Regions from separate parts of the Homo sapiens genome. Here region 2 is linked to region 1. The links are contacts of gene promoters, found by promoter capture Hi-C in human tissues and cell types (Jung and others, 2019). All regions are on one chromosome and are shown on one strand. Each heading gives the region's core, a stretch centred on a gene start or on the middle of the fragment in contact. The rest is flanking DNA. Distances are from core to core; before and after follow the strand shown. Region 1 holds the start of DOCK6 (dedicator of cytokinesis 6). Region 2 overlaps PRKCSH (PRKCSH beta subunit of glucosidase II).

Region 1 (6,873 bases), core at 1,848-4,347:
CAAGGAAACTGGGGCTCAGAGAAGTTGAGCAATTTATCCTGGGTCACACAGCCAGGTCTGATGGAGACCCAGTGAGACTTTAGAGACAACCGCTTTGGGATCAGGCTCCCTGGAGTCAAATCTTGGATCTGACACTGATTCACTAGGCTACATTAGGGCGAGTCCCCTCTCTGGGTGTTCTTCAGTTTCCTTATCTGTAAAAGGGGGCTACTGGCAACGCCCATATGTGGGAAAGGGAACAGAACATGCAAAGGTCCTTGAGTGGAGCTGTGTCCTGGTGTTTAGAGAAGCATCCAGGAGGCAGGGGCAGCTGGAGTGGAGTGAATGAGGGAAAGAAAAGGAAGAGGCAAGCCAGGGAGGTGACAGGGTTGATCATGCTGGGCCTTGTGGGTTGTGGGAGGACTTTGGTTTTGTTTGTTGGTTGTTTTGTTGTTGTTGTTGTTTTGAGACAGGGTCTCACTCTCGCCCAGGCTAGAGTGCAGTGGCGCAATCTCAGCTCACTACAACCTCCACCTCCTGGGTTCAGACGATCCTCATGCCTCAGCCTCCCGAGTAGCTGGGATTCAGGCTCCCACCACCATGCCCGGCTATTTTTTGTATTTTTAGTAGAGACGGGGTTTTGCCATGTTGGCCAGGCTGGTCTGGAGCTCCTGACCTCAAGTGATCCACCCGCCTCGGCCTCCCAAAGTGCCAGGATGACAGGGAGCCACTGTGCCCGGCGGGTTGTGGGAGGACTTTGGCTTTTACCCTGAGTGAGGTGGGAGCCATGGAAGGTTCTGAACAGAGGAGGGAACTGAAGTGATGCAGGTGTTCCCAGGCTCTTCCTGGCCACTGATGCAGGAACAAGCTGGGGGGAGGATGAGAAAGGAAGCTGGGAGACCGGATATAAAGGGGGCTGGACTGGAACTAGGCTAAGAAATGTGCAAATCTTCGCTCATCTGCATATTTCCTGCCCAGCCTAGCTCCCAGCAGCCTGAGAGGCAAGGCGGGGACACTTGGTGGGGCATGGCGGGGAGTGATGGGCGGAGCTCCACCTGGCCAAAGTGGCTGGACCACTCCGGGCAGGCACGTGGGCTGTGTGCACATGTCACATGCCAGGCTGTGAGCAGCCCTACTGCGGCCTGACTAGCAGGATGCTATCCTGCGTCTGACTGGCAGGGTTTGGGGGTTCCCCTACAATCCAGGCCTCTTTCCTGTGGGTTCAAGGTCTGACATGGATTCATTGGGCAGCAAGGCAAGAAACTGTGTCTCGGGGGTGCATGGTGACTCAGGGTGGGCATGTGGCTCATTCCTGTAATCCCGGCACTTTGGGAGGCCGAGGCGGGTGGATCACCTGAGGTCAGGAGCTCCAGACCAGCCTGGCCAACATGGTGAAACCCCGTCTCTACTAAAAATACAAAAAATTAGCCAGGTGTGATGGTGGGTGCCTGTAATCCCAGCTACTCGGGAGGCTGAGGCAGGAGAATCGCTTGAACCTGGGAGGCAGAGGTTGCGGTGAGCCGAGATTGTGCCATTGCACTCCAGTCTGGGCAACAAGAGCGAAATGCCACCTCAAAATAAATAAATAAATAAATAAATAAATAAATAAATAAATAAATAAATAATAGAGGATAAAATGCCAGCAACCCATAGATGGGAATGAGAACAGCACGTGCAAAGGCCCTGAGGCAGAGCCACGGCCTTGTCTGATTCAACCTCAAATTCTCCCTGGGGCATTTGCTGACCAGGGAAAGAAGGGCTGTCCAGGAGGAAGGACCTGCCGGTGCAGAGGCATGCAGGTGAGAAAGGGGTGAGCTCCTCCAGAGGGGAGTGTCGGCTGGAGAATTCTCTAAAAATGCTGCAGCAGTGCTGGGAGAGAGGCCAGTGGGGAGAGATTTGAGACCATAGATTAACCAAGACATCCCCACCTCTTCCTCTTGGTAGAGGCGGCCCCGAAAGTCTAGACTCCCAAACTGGCTCACTCAGGTCCCACCACCTGGACCTGGGGCACATCTCCGAGCACTCCAGTGCCTAGCCAGGCTCCTCTGACTCCCATGCTGTAGACTGGGAGCACGGACAATGCAGGCGCTGGAGACCCCTGTGAGTCACACTGAGCAAGCACCCGAACACCTCTGTGCCTCAGTTTACTCATCTGTAAAAGGAGGAAAACAATAATTTCTTCTGCATGTGTGAATTGCAGGGCCAGGCTCAATGACATCTTAGCAATTAGACTTTTTGAGACAGGGTCTCGCTCTGTCACCCAGGCTGGATTGAAATGGCACAATCACAGCTCACTGCAGCCTTGACCTCCCAGGCTCAAGCGATCCTCCTCCCTCAGACTCCCAAGTAGCTGAGATTACAGGCACACACCACCATGCCTGGTTAATTTTTGCATTTTTTGTGGACACGGGGTCTCATTATGTTGCCCAGGCTGGTCTCCAACTCCTGGGCTCAAACAATCCTCCTGCCTTGGCCCCCCACAGTGCTGGGATTACAGGCATGAGCCACCATGCACGGCCACGATTATACTTACAGGTATGATTATTAGATACATGAACATCGTTATTGTTTTCCAGCCAGGAGTCAGAGGGCAGAAAGAGCGCCCCCCAAACCCCGGAAATCTGGGGCCTACCCAGCCTGGGTCCCAGCGCCTCCCCTCCCTCCCTCCCTCCTGAGCTTCAGTTTCCCCAGCCCTGCTCCTGGGGTGGTAAGACCACCCCACTAAACCCCGGGAGCCTGGGGTCCACCTAGCCCGGGTCTCAGCGCCTCCCTTCCCTCCCTCCCTCCTCAGGCTCAGTTTCTCCAGCCCAGCTCCCAGGGTGGAAAGAGCGCCCCCGCCAGCTCGGGAGTCTGGGGCACCCCCAGTCTGGGTCCCAGCGCCTCCTCTCCCTAACTTCCCTCCTCAGCCTCAGTTTCCCCAGCCCTTCTCCTAGGGTAGAAAGAGCGTCCCCCCAGCCCGGGAGTCTGGGGCCCGCCCAGCCTGGATCCCGGGGCCTCCTCTCCGTCCCCAGCCTCAGTTTCCCCAGCCCCCAGGACTCCAGGCGACCCCTCCGGCCTGCAGGGGCAGCACGGAGCGGCCCGGGCCACCCGGAAGGGCCCCGCCCCCGCGCCGGCCCCGCCCCGCCCCGGCTGCCCAGAACCGGGAGGCGGCGGCGGCGGCGGGGCCGGGGCCCGGGGCGGCGGCGGCGGGACGCGAGGACCATGGCTGCCTCCGAGCGCCGCGCCTTCGCGCACAAGATCAACAGGTAGTGTGGCCGCGGGGCCCCCTCCCACCTCCCCCACGTGGCCCGGCTCCGCCCCGGGGCGGTGCGACCCTCCCCGCCCGGGCGCCCCCAATTCAACCCCTTTCCGCCTCGGCCCGGGTCCCGCCAGCTTCCTCCGGCCGGGGCTGGGAGCGGGAGAAGGCGGGGAGGGCCGCGGGGGTCCCGGCGGGGGTCCCAGATGGGAGTCGCGTCGGGGCTGGGAGCGCGATGGCGGCTGCCGTTCTGCCTCCGTGACGCGCGGGGGTGTGTCCGGAGGGCTTCCCGGAGGAGGTGGCGTGGGGATGCGGATGACGGGCGCCCCCTGAACTCCCTGCGCTCCCCGTCCGCCTCTCGGCCCCTCACTGTCCCCGCGCTCTCGGAGATCGGGGTGGGCCGGACTTTCTGTTCCTTCCTCAGTGCCTGGTTTGGGGCAGGGAGGCTCCAGGCTCTGAGATTTGGGGACAGAGATGGGCTCCTTGGTGGCGTTTGAAACCCCTCGAGGAGTTTCCCGTGCCCTTCCCCCTCCAGGGTCCAGTGCCCAGCTGTCGGGGGGGGGGAAGGGGGACAGCTGTGGACGCCCCCCCACCTTCTGCTTCAGGCTCTCCCGTCACGGGCTGGACCGCGCTGGGGATGGATGGGTGATTGAATGGAGGGAGTGGGGGCTGGGGACAGAACCAGCTGGTGGGCAGACGGGGGAGGGGACAGGCCCCAGGCGCTGGGGGATCCATTTCCGTGGCCACTGGGGATTGTGAGAGTCACAGCCTGGGAGGGGTATATCAGACTCTCTGGGGCTGAAAAGCCTCGCCCCCAGTTGGCGGGGGGTCTTTGCGACAAGGGTGCGTTCAGAAGCTCAGGTATCCTCTCCCCGGGGGACCTGTCCTGACTGCCCCCAGGTGAAAGAGCTGCCCTGTGGGTTGGGCCCTGGTCTTATGGAGACAAAAGATCCCCCTCTTGGGATATAGTGGCGGAGAGAGACCAGAAGCCTGATCGAGTAGATTACCTGTCAGTGACAAGTGCTGTAGGGACAAGAAGACAGGGAAGGGGGATGGGAGGGTGGGGGCTGCTTGAGATGCGGGAGGTGGGTCAGGAAGGCCTGGATGAGCAGGTGCCTTTGAGCAAAAACCTCAAGGAGATGAGAGAGGGATCGATCGAGGCCAGTTTGTGGGGGGAAAGAGTGGGAAGGGTTTGTGCAAAGGCCCTGAGGCAGGAACAGAGAGCTGGAGGGGGACAGTAAGAGTAGAATGTACAGGGTCGTGTGGGCTGTGCAAGGGACTTTGACTTTGGACCCCAGGTGAGGTGGGAGCCATGGGGAGTTCTCAGCAGAGGAGGGATGAGACTTGGTGGCTGGGGCGTAATGGCTGGGCAATTTTTATGTTCTATCATTATCTTTGTCTGTAAATTGGCTTTCAAAATGTCTTAGACCTTTGGCGTCTTTGAGGCTGCAAACATTATTGCTGTCTGTTTCTTTTTCTTTCCTTTTCTTTTTCTTTTCTTTCTTTCTTTCTTTTTTTTTTTTTGAGACAGAGTCTCGCTCTGTCACCCAAACTGGAGTGCAATGGCACAATCTTGGCTCACTGCAACCTTCGCCTCCTGGGTTCAAGCGATTCTTGTGCCTCAGCCTCCTGAGTAGCTGGGGTTACAGGCGCCCACTACCACACCCAGCTAATTTTTGTATTTTTAGTAGAGAGGGGGTTTCACCATGTTGACCAGGCTGGTCACGAACTCCTGACCTCAGGTGATCCGCCCACCTCCCAAAGTGCTGGGATTACAGGTGTGAGCCACTGCACCCAGGCTTTTTTTTTTTTTCCTTTTCTTTTTTTGAGACAGGGTCTTGCTCTGTCACCCAGACTGGAGTGCAGTGGTGATACCTTGGCTCACTGCAGTCTCAATCTCCCGGGCTCAAGTGATCCTCCTGCCTCAGCCTCCCAAGTAGCTGGGACTACAGGTGTATGCTGCAACACTCAGCTAACTTTTTAACCTTTTGTAGAAACGGGATCTCACTATCTTGCCCAGGCTGGCCTCAAACTCCTGGGCTCAAGTGATCCTCCTGCCTCGGCCTCCCAAATGCTGGGATTACAGGCGTGAGCCATTGCGCCCAGCTTGCTGTCTGTTTCTTTGCATTTTGGTCTGTATGTCCTTGGGTCCTGGTTTTTACTCAAGTGAGAAAGAGGGGTTTTGGATACTGTAGAGCTCAGGGTAAGAGTAGAGAATGATCCTGGGGCCCTAGTGAACTGTGAGGGAGTGGCCCAGGGCTTCCAGAGCAACTTCGCTCTTGGGCACCCAGGTGTCTACATACTCAGAGCTGGTCCTATATTCATCTGTTCATCCATTCAGTCATTTATTCCACAAATACCAGATTAACCCGAATATTAGACAATCTTCCAGCTACTCCAGAGGCTGAGGCAGGAGGATCACTTGAACCCAGGAGGTGGAGGTTGCAGTGAGCAGAGATCGTGCCACTGCACTCCAGCCTGGGTGACAGAGTAAGACTCTGTCTCAAAAAAAAAAAAAAAAAAAAGGCCGGGCGCGGCGGCCCAGGTCTGTAATCCCAGACTTTGGGAGGCCGAGGCAGGTGGATCACCTGAGGTCAGGAGTTCGAGACCAGCCTGGCCAACATGGTGAAACTCCGTCTCTACTAAAAATACAAAAAGTTAGCTTTTTGTAACTTTACAAATTTACAAAAGCGTGGTGACGCACGCCTGTAATCCCAGCTACTCGGGAGGCTTAGGCAGGAGAATTGCTTGAACCTGGGAGGTAGAGGTTGCAGTGAGCCGAGATCCCGCCACTGCACTCCAGCCTGAGCGACAGAGCGAGACTCCATCTCAAAAAAAAAAAAAAAAAAAGAAAAGAAATAATGATTCATTGGAGGGGTGGGAAGAAAATGAGGTATTTATTGACAAATTTCAAAATCCCAAAGTTACCACTGAAATTTCAGGTAAACATCTCTCTCTCTCTCTCTCTCTCCCCCATCCTTGAATATATTGGCAAACACAAGCACATACATATATTGTTATTTTTTACCATTTAAACAACTGTAACATACAACATTCATACCAAAAACTACAAATTTTGGGCCAGGTATGATGGCTCACACCTGTAATCCTACCACTTTGGGAGGCCAGGAGTTCAAGACCAGCCTGGGCAACATAGCGAGACCCTGTCTCTGCAAGAAACAAAATTACCCAGGTGTGATGGTGGCTCATACCTGTAGTCCCAGCTCCTGGGGAGGCTGAGATGAGAGGATTGCTGGAGCCCAGGAGGTTGAGGCTGCAGTGAGCCGTGATTGCGCCACTGCACTCCAGCCTGAGTGACAGAGTGAGACCCTGTCTCAAAAGAAAGAAAAAGAAAGTAGCCTGGGTATGGTGGCTCATGCCTATAATCCGAGCACTTTGGGAGGCTGAGGCAGGTGGATCACCTGAGGTCAGGAGTTCGGGTCTGTAGATGGTGAAACCCCATCTCTACGAAAAATATAAAAATTAGCCAGGCATGGTGGCGAGTGCCTGTAATCCCAATTACTGGGGAAGCTGAGGCAGGAGAATCACTTGAACCCGGGACGTGGAGGTTGCAGTGAGCTGAGATCACGCCACTGCACTCCAGCCTGGGTGACAGAGACTCCGTCTCAAGAAAAAAAAAAGAGAGAGAAAGAAAAGTT
Region 2 (6,506 bases), core at 2,486-4,985, 190 kb before region 1:
ATTAAAGTAATAATAATTATTAATAACAGTAATGGTAGCCGAGTGGCACGCGGGGGCGTGTGCTCTGCGGGACAGTCCCCACGGCCAGCGACGTCCAGGTCACCAATGGGATTCTTTTTGCTCTTGTCTTGAGAATTTTTTCAGTCCTATTTAGCTGGTGAAATCCCTAGCTTGTTCTTGATACACGAACCTATTTATTCTCGTGGTTTTAAGTCCTCCCTGCCCTCTCTCCTCTCCCCTGCAGCAGGGCAGGGACCCCTCTCCCCTGCTGTCTCTTGGGGCTCTCTCCCCTCCGCCCTCTGCATTCGGGAACACGCACGTCCGCGTGGGAAGCTTGCAGCAGGGCGTCCGAGCAATAAGGGCTGGGTTTGTCCCCCACCCTGGGGGGGGCCAGGCTCCAGAGAGGGGGCACCTCCCCACACACCCCCCCCCCACCGAGGCCTAGGCCCCTGCCACCCCCAAGACTGGGAGGGGACTTCTTTTTCTAAAACACAAAACTCAGCCCAGCCAGGCCCCCTCCCTGGAGGCCAGCCCCTCCCCGCAGGGGGCCAGGCCGGGGCTCCCAGGCGAGGGGGACTTGGGGCTTCCACGTCCCTGGGGGGCAGGGGCCAGGCCAGGGGGGAGGGGGCTCAGCCCCTCCACCCCTCCCTTCATCCTGTTATTTATTCGGAAGGTTTCAAATCACGACAGAGTCCATGTTGGAGGTGATAAAAAACTGTAAAAAAAAAAAAAAAAAAAAAGACAAAACAAAAGACAAAAAAAAAAAAAAAACCCAACAAGAACACTTCGCGTTGCGTTTAGACTATTTATTACCGGGATCACAGGCCTGGCCGCGGTAACAGACTTTTACATGGAATTGTTTAATTATTTGTACTTTTCATGCCAGAAAATAAAAGTTCAGAATCTTAAGGCCTTGGGTGATCTCTGCACCGCTGCGCGGGGAGCACGCAGGAGCAGCCTGTGTAGTAGCGCCCAGGCCCCCGTCCTTCTCTGGGCCTGGGTCTGTCTGCAGCAGGGGCTTTGGCCCCGGGAGGGAACCCTTGGCCTCCACAGAGCACAGATGAGACCCAGGGAAGGTGGGACACGGGCCCGGATGGATGCTCAAGACAGAAATGGTCCAGGGTCCATCCACCTGGTATCTTCAGGAGTGATCCCCAGATGGTGGGGGAGGCCCGGGTGGGATCTGCAGAAAGCTGCGTCCCCTGCGCTCAACCCCTGCCCACACCCCGGTCCACACCCCAGCAAAGCGAGGCAGACACAGACAAGTTTGGGTGGGGGATCACATTTATTGTATTGAGGTCACAGGTCAAGTCATTCACTAGTCCCCACTAGGAGGGGTGGCAGGGACAGGGCTGGGGGTGGTGGGGCGAGTCACCAAGGTGGGGGGCCCAGGGAGGGCAAGCTCCTTTACCCATCTTTGAAGGCTGTTGGGGCCTGGGAATGTGGACCAGCCCCGCCTGGGCCCCAGAGCAGGGCACGAAGCCCCACAAAGGTCCTGCCGCCACAGAGGAGGGCAACAGAGCCACAGGCAGGCCCAGAGGGGCGGGTGGACGGCACTGCAGGGGCTGGCTTCATGCCTTCTTGAGGTTCTGGGGCAAGAGAAAGACCAGATTAGAAAGCTGGGGACAGCTGGACATGGTGATGTTTGCCTGTAGTCCCGGCTGCTTGGGAGGCTGAGGTGGGAGGATCATTTGAGGCCAGGAGTTGACCAGCCTGGAGACCTTGTCTATTTTCTCTTATTATTATTATTTTTTTTTTTTGAGAGTCTCACTCTGTAGCCCAGGCTGGAGAGTGCAGTAGCATGATCTTGGCTCACTCCAACCTCTACCTCCTGGGTTCAAGTGATTCTTGTGCTTCAGCCTCTTGAGCAGCTGGAACTACAGGCACCTACCACCACACCCAGCTAATTTTTTTGTATTTTTAGTAGAGATGGGGTTTTACACCATGTTGGTCAGGCTGGTCTCAACCTCCTGACCTCAAGTGATCCGCCCACCTCAGCCTCCCAAAGTGCTGGGATTACAGATGTGAGCCACGACGCCTGGCCTATTTAGTTTCAAAAGTAAAAAAATCTTTTTTTAAAAAGCAGGGGATGGCCAGACATGGTAGCTCAAGCCTGTAATCCCAGCACTTTGGGAGGCTGAGGAGGGCGGATCACGAGGTCAGGAGATCGAGACCAACCTGGTTAACACAGGGAAACCCCATCTCTACTAAAAATACAAAAAAATTAGCCAGGCGTGGTGGCGGCGCCTGTAGTCCCAATTACTCAGGAGGCTGAGGCAGGAGAATTGCTTGCACCCAGGAGGTGGAGGTTGCAGTGAGCCGAGATCGCGCCATTGCATTCCACATTCCAGCCTCGGCAACAAGAGTGAAACTCCATCCAAAAAAAAAAAGGCAGGAGATGGCCGGGTGTGGTGGCTCATGCCTGTAATCCCAGCACTTTGGGAGGCCAAGGCAGGTGGATCATCTGAGGTCAGGAGTTCGAGACCATCCAGGCCAACATGGTGAAACCCCATCTCTACTAAAAATTAGCCAGGCATGGTGGTGCACACCTGTAATCCCAGCTACTTGGGAGGCTGAGACAAGACAATTGTTTGAACCCGGGAGGTAGAGGTTGCAGTCAGCTGAGGTCGCATCACTGCACTCCAGCCTGGGCCAAAGAGTGAGACTCCACCTCAAAAAAACAAAACAAAAAAGCAGGGAACATGGGGACACAGGTTGATAGAGTGGCCATGTGGGTCCATCTTCCTCAGGGCCCGCCGCCTCCCCTTGCTGGGGCAGGCCGACGAGACTCCACCTCCCCGCCCACCTCTGCGCCCATCCAGCTAGAGCTCGTCATGGTCGTCTTCGGTGGGTGCTTCAGGCGGTGGCTCCGGGCAGGCGGCTGGCGTCATCAGCTCCATGAGGTACTCGCAGCGACTGGGCTCTGTGGTGCTGGTCACCATGGTCTCTTTCCCGCACAGGAGGCGCACCTGGGGATGGGCAGACGGGTGCTCGAGAGGGTTCGGCTGGGCCAGGCCTGGGTCTCCCCGCCCCAGCTCCCCTGCCTTGCAGGCACTCACGGTGGTGGAGCGGTTGGGGCCCTGCCAGCAGCCCGTGCCTTGCTCATACTTCATGGCACTGAACTTGTCGTGGTCGGGGCCAATCCATGAGCCCCAGGTGCTGTGAGAGACACAGGGTGCTGAGGGCTGGGCCGGTGTCGGGGCACCAGGAGGAGGCAGAGGGAAGGGGCCAGCCCAAGCCACTCACCCAAGGCTGGTGGGAGAGCCCCCGAGTTTGGGTTTCTGCGAGACAAGCTTGAAGGGGCAGAGGCGGTAGACGTATCTGTGGAGGACCGGGACATATGGGTTGGGGAACGCAGGGATTCCAGCCTCCTCCCACAGCCACCCCCCACCGCCTCCTCCAGTCCCCACACACAGGGTACCTCCAACTCCAATGACCAACCCTAAACCTGGCCCCTGGCTTCTGCTCCCCCTCAATATGGAAGGCAGCACTCTCGGGCCCCACCCGCAGATGGTTCCCCAACCATCAGGAAACTGCCGGTGCCACTTCCGGGGCCACCCGCCTCCCACCCTGCCAGTGGGGGCCCCTGCATTCCTGGGACGCACTCGTTGGTGGTGAGCTCGTAGCACTGGCTGTACAGGTAAGCAAACTCCCCGTTGGGGCCAAAGTCAAAAGAAATCTCTTGCTCCAGGTTCCTGGAAGGGGAGGCGGAGCGGTTAAGGGGCAGCTGGGGACGCCAGTGCCTGACCCAGGACGACAGACACAGGAGGGTCTGGCTGAGCAATGGTGCCCAGGCTGTCCTCCCTGCCACCTCCCAGGGACCCTCCCTGCAGGGACCAGGCCCAGCCTGTGGTTGCCTCAGTGATTCCCCATCACCAGCTCCCCTGGGAGTCAAGGAGCAGTCGCTGTGGGACAGGTGTCCCCGCTCCTCAGCCCCCGCTACCTGATGGACTCCTCCATGTCCTTCAGCGACCGCTCGGCCTCCTCGAACTTGTTGCGGGCCTCCTGGGCAGCTGGGAGAGGGGTTGGAGGTCAGAGATGTCCTCAACCCCATCCAGGAGGATGGGGAACGGGGTTCCATGGATGTGGCTGTGTGCTCCCATACCCTCATTTTGCTCTGGCCAAGGACTTCACCCCGACAGCCTTGAGGGCCTCACCAGCTATAGAGCAGCCCCGACTTGCTGCCCAGGCTCCCAGCTCCTGAGCGAGTGGGGCCAGGAGTGACACAAACAAGCTGCGGCCCTTGGGGAGGCAGAAGGGCCCCTTGGGGCTGGCGAGGGTGGGACTGGCTTACCCTAGGCCCCCTTCCTGGACTCCCCAAGATACTGGGGCTTGTGCTGGCCGAGTCAGAGCAGGGTCTAAGCTCAGGATCTTCCCTCGACCTGTGCCACCACGGCAGGAAACGCTGGGCCCACCCGAGGAGCCTGGCCCCCGCCCACCCTCACCATCGATGAAGGCCTGCGTCTGCTCGTCGTAGGGCGGCATTTTGTCTTCCTCAGCAGGGCTGGCCGGCTGCGGGGGTGACAGTGGCGGTGGGGCCTCCTGGGGCAGGGGCAGGGTCAGTGAGTAGCCCTTCCCCCACCCTCTCTGTCTCCACTTCTCCCCCAAACACGGACCTTGGGCTGCTCCCCCTGCACCTCGGAATCCTCCTCCTCCTCCTCTTCTTCAGCCTCTTCTTCCTCCTCCTCCTCCTCCTCCTCCTCCTCCTCTGTGGGCGACGAGGGCACTGGCGGCTGCTCCTCCTTGGGCTCCGTCAAGTCAGGGGCAGAAGGTGCTGGAAGGTCGGTGGGCAGTGCCTGGCGGGTGAGCAGTGCGGTCGGTGTTGTGGACTCAGGGTCCACCCACACCCTCAGGCTCACACCACAGCCCAAGGGGCAGCCTCGGTGTCTCTGCCCCTCCTGCGGGGCCTGCAGGGAGGACCGACAGCTGGGGTCGGGGGGTCTCGGTGGGGGGTGCTGGGGCCACCCAGCTGGCCAGGGTGGCCAGGTGCCAGAACCAGAGGCAGCTCCTTTGTGAGGCGGGGTGGGGGCAGTGTGGTGGGAGGACCAAGTCCCCTCCCTTCTCCTCCACTGACCTCGGACCGGTACTTGTCCCTGATGGCGGCCCAGACGCGGTCGTAGAAAGAGGTGGCGTCTGTCTGTGTGTCCCCACTGAGGAGGGCCTGTGTGTGTTGGGGGTGGTGTCAAGATCTAGGCCACCACGTGTCCCCCATCTCGGCCACCCCGGCACCCGGGCTGCGGTGCCAGGCACGGGAGGGCTGGGCCCCGGGCCCTGATGACCAGGCCAGGGCCACGCCAGTGAGGCACTGCGGCCAGGAGGGGGCAGCACAGGCCCGTGGGAGGGGAGGAGGAGACCAGGGGCTGGAGTGGTTGGGGGCACTGAGACAGAAAGAGAGAAGCAGATGGACAAACGGACGTACAGATGGAGGAAGAGAGAGCCCAGGACCAGAGAGGGCCAGGCCCTCCAAGGGAGAGGCCAAGGCCCAGGCTGCAGATGGAGAGGGAGAAACCCAGGGGTGGGCAGAGAAGGGAGGCCAGAAGCCAGGGGCCACGGGGAAGGAGGAGGATAGGAAAGGAGACAGACAGGGGACGAGGGTGTGGGGGAGGAGGGGAATAGGGCAGGACAGGGGTGGGGGAGGAAGGGGATTGGGTGCTCAACAGCGGGTAGAGTGGGGGCAGGTGCGGGGAAACGGGCTCCAGCGCGACCTGGCTCCATCCCGGGTCCTGCCAGGCGGGAAGCGGCCCTGAGTGGCTGCCATCCCAGCTCACCCAGAGGAGGCATCCCAGGCCAGCAAGGAGCTTTCCTTGGTCCCCCTCCTGTGCCCTGAGGTCACCCTGGGGCAATGCTCCCTAGAAGTCCCCAACCAAGGGGCAGCCGGGGGTACCTGAGCTTCCGCTTCTGACAACGCCCCATCCCCATCTGTGTCCAGCTCCGGGTGAGTCTGCAGCTCAGTCACCGAGACCCTGCGGGGGCGTGGCAGAAGCAGACTGGAGGGGTGAGGCCCCAGTGGCTCTCAGTTGGGGGCACCATGTGGCCCACCTGTTCTTCCCTGCAGGGCCCCACCCTGGAACTTGCTTCAGGACCTCAAGGTGTAGGGGCCTCCCCACCCTCCTGCCCCCTCCTCAGGACTCCATGACCCCAAAGGAGCTCAAAGTAAGGGGTGGGACTGGGAGATACCTGGACCCCCAAATGTCCGATGACCTCTCTACCAACTCACCCAGGTGGCACCTCCTTCCACCCCAGGACCCGGCACATTGAAGCTGCCATCTGCCTTGGTCCCCCACCCAGCAAAGCCCACCCCCACCCTTGCCCATTCGGTCCCTCTGAAGCCCCCTGCTCCTTGGCACCTGACATCTCCTAGGCTCCCCGTGTGCCTCTCAGCCCCCAAAAGTCCACCCTCCACCAGGTAACCCAGCAAGCTCAGAGGCACAGCCAGGATTCGAACCCAGGTCTGGCTTTCCCCAGAGCGTAGTGGGGCTGGGAAAAGCCATCCGATCACTAGATGC

The links. Contacts are between HindIII fragments. The study calls those that stand out against the background at their distance.
Region 2: a fragment that was not itself captured here is called in contact with the fragment with the promoter of DOCK6 in region 1 in 1 of the 25 tissues and cell types used here (spleen).

Annotation. Positions count from the first base shown.
Region 1 is chr19:11,258,748-11,265,620 of GRCh38, reverse strand. DOCK6 (dedicator of cytokinesis 6) reads left to right here and starts at 3,097. Exons shown (of 48, transcript NM_020812.4): 1 at 3,097-3,224. The coding sequence starts at 3,181. RefSeq lists silencers at 3,013-3,172, 3,243-3,302, 3,383-3,522. The HindIII fragment of the contact is 27,433 bases long and covers 1-6,873 here.
Region 2 is chr19:11,445,729-11,452,234 of GRCh38, reverse strand. PRKCSH (PRKCSH beta subunit of glucosidase II) reads right to left here. Exons shown (of 18, transcript NM_001289104.2): 9 at 5,885-5,963; 10 at 5,075-5,161; 11 at 4,617-4,796; 12 at 4,446-4,542; 13 at 3,944-4,013; 14 at 3,606-3,695; 15 at 3,247-3,321; 16 at 3,060-3,159; 17 at 2,807-2,969; 18 at 1,267-1,589. The coding sequence ends at 2,823. It overlaps ELAVL3 (ELAV like RNA binding protein 3), which reads left to right. Exons shown (of 7, transcript NM_001420.4): 7 at 1-909. Among named protein-coding and RNA genes, the nearest start is that of PRKCSH, 13 kb to the right of the region's middle. RefSeq lists enhancers at 1-43, 74-123. The HindIII fragment of the contact is 3,843 bases long and covers 1,814-5,656 here.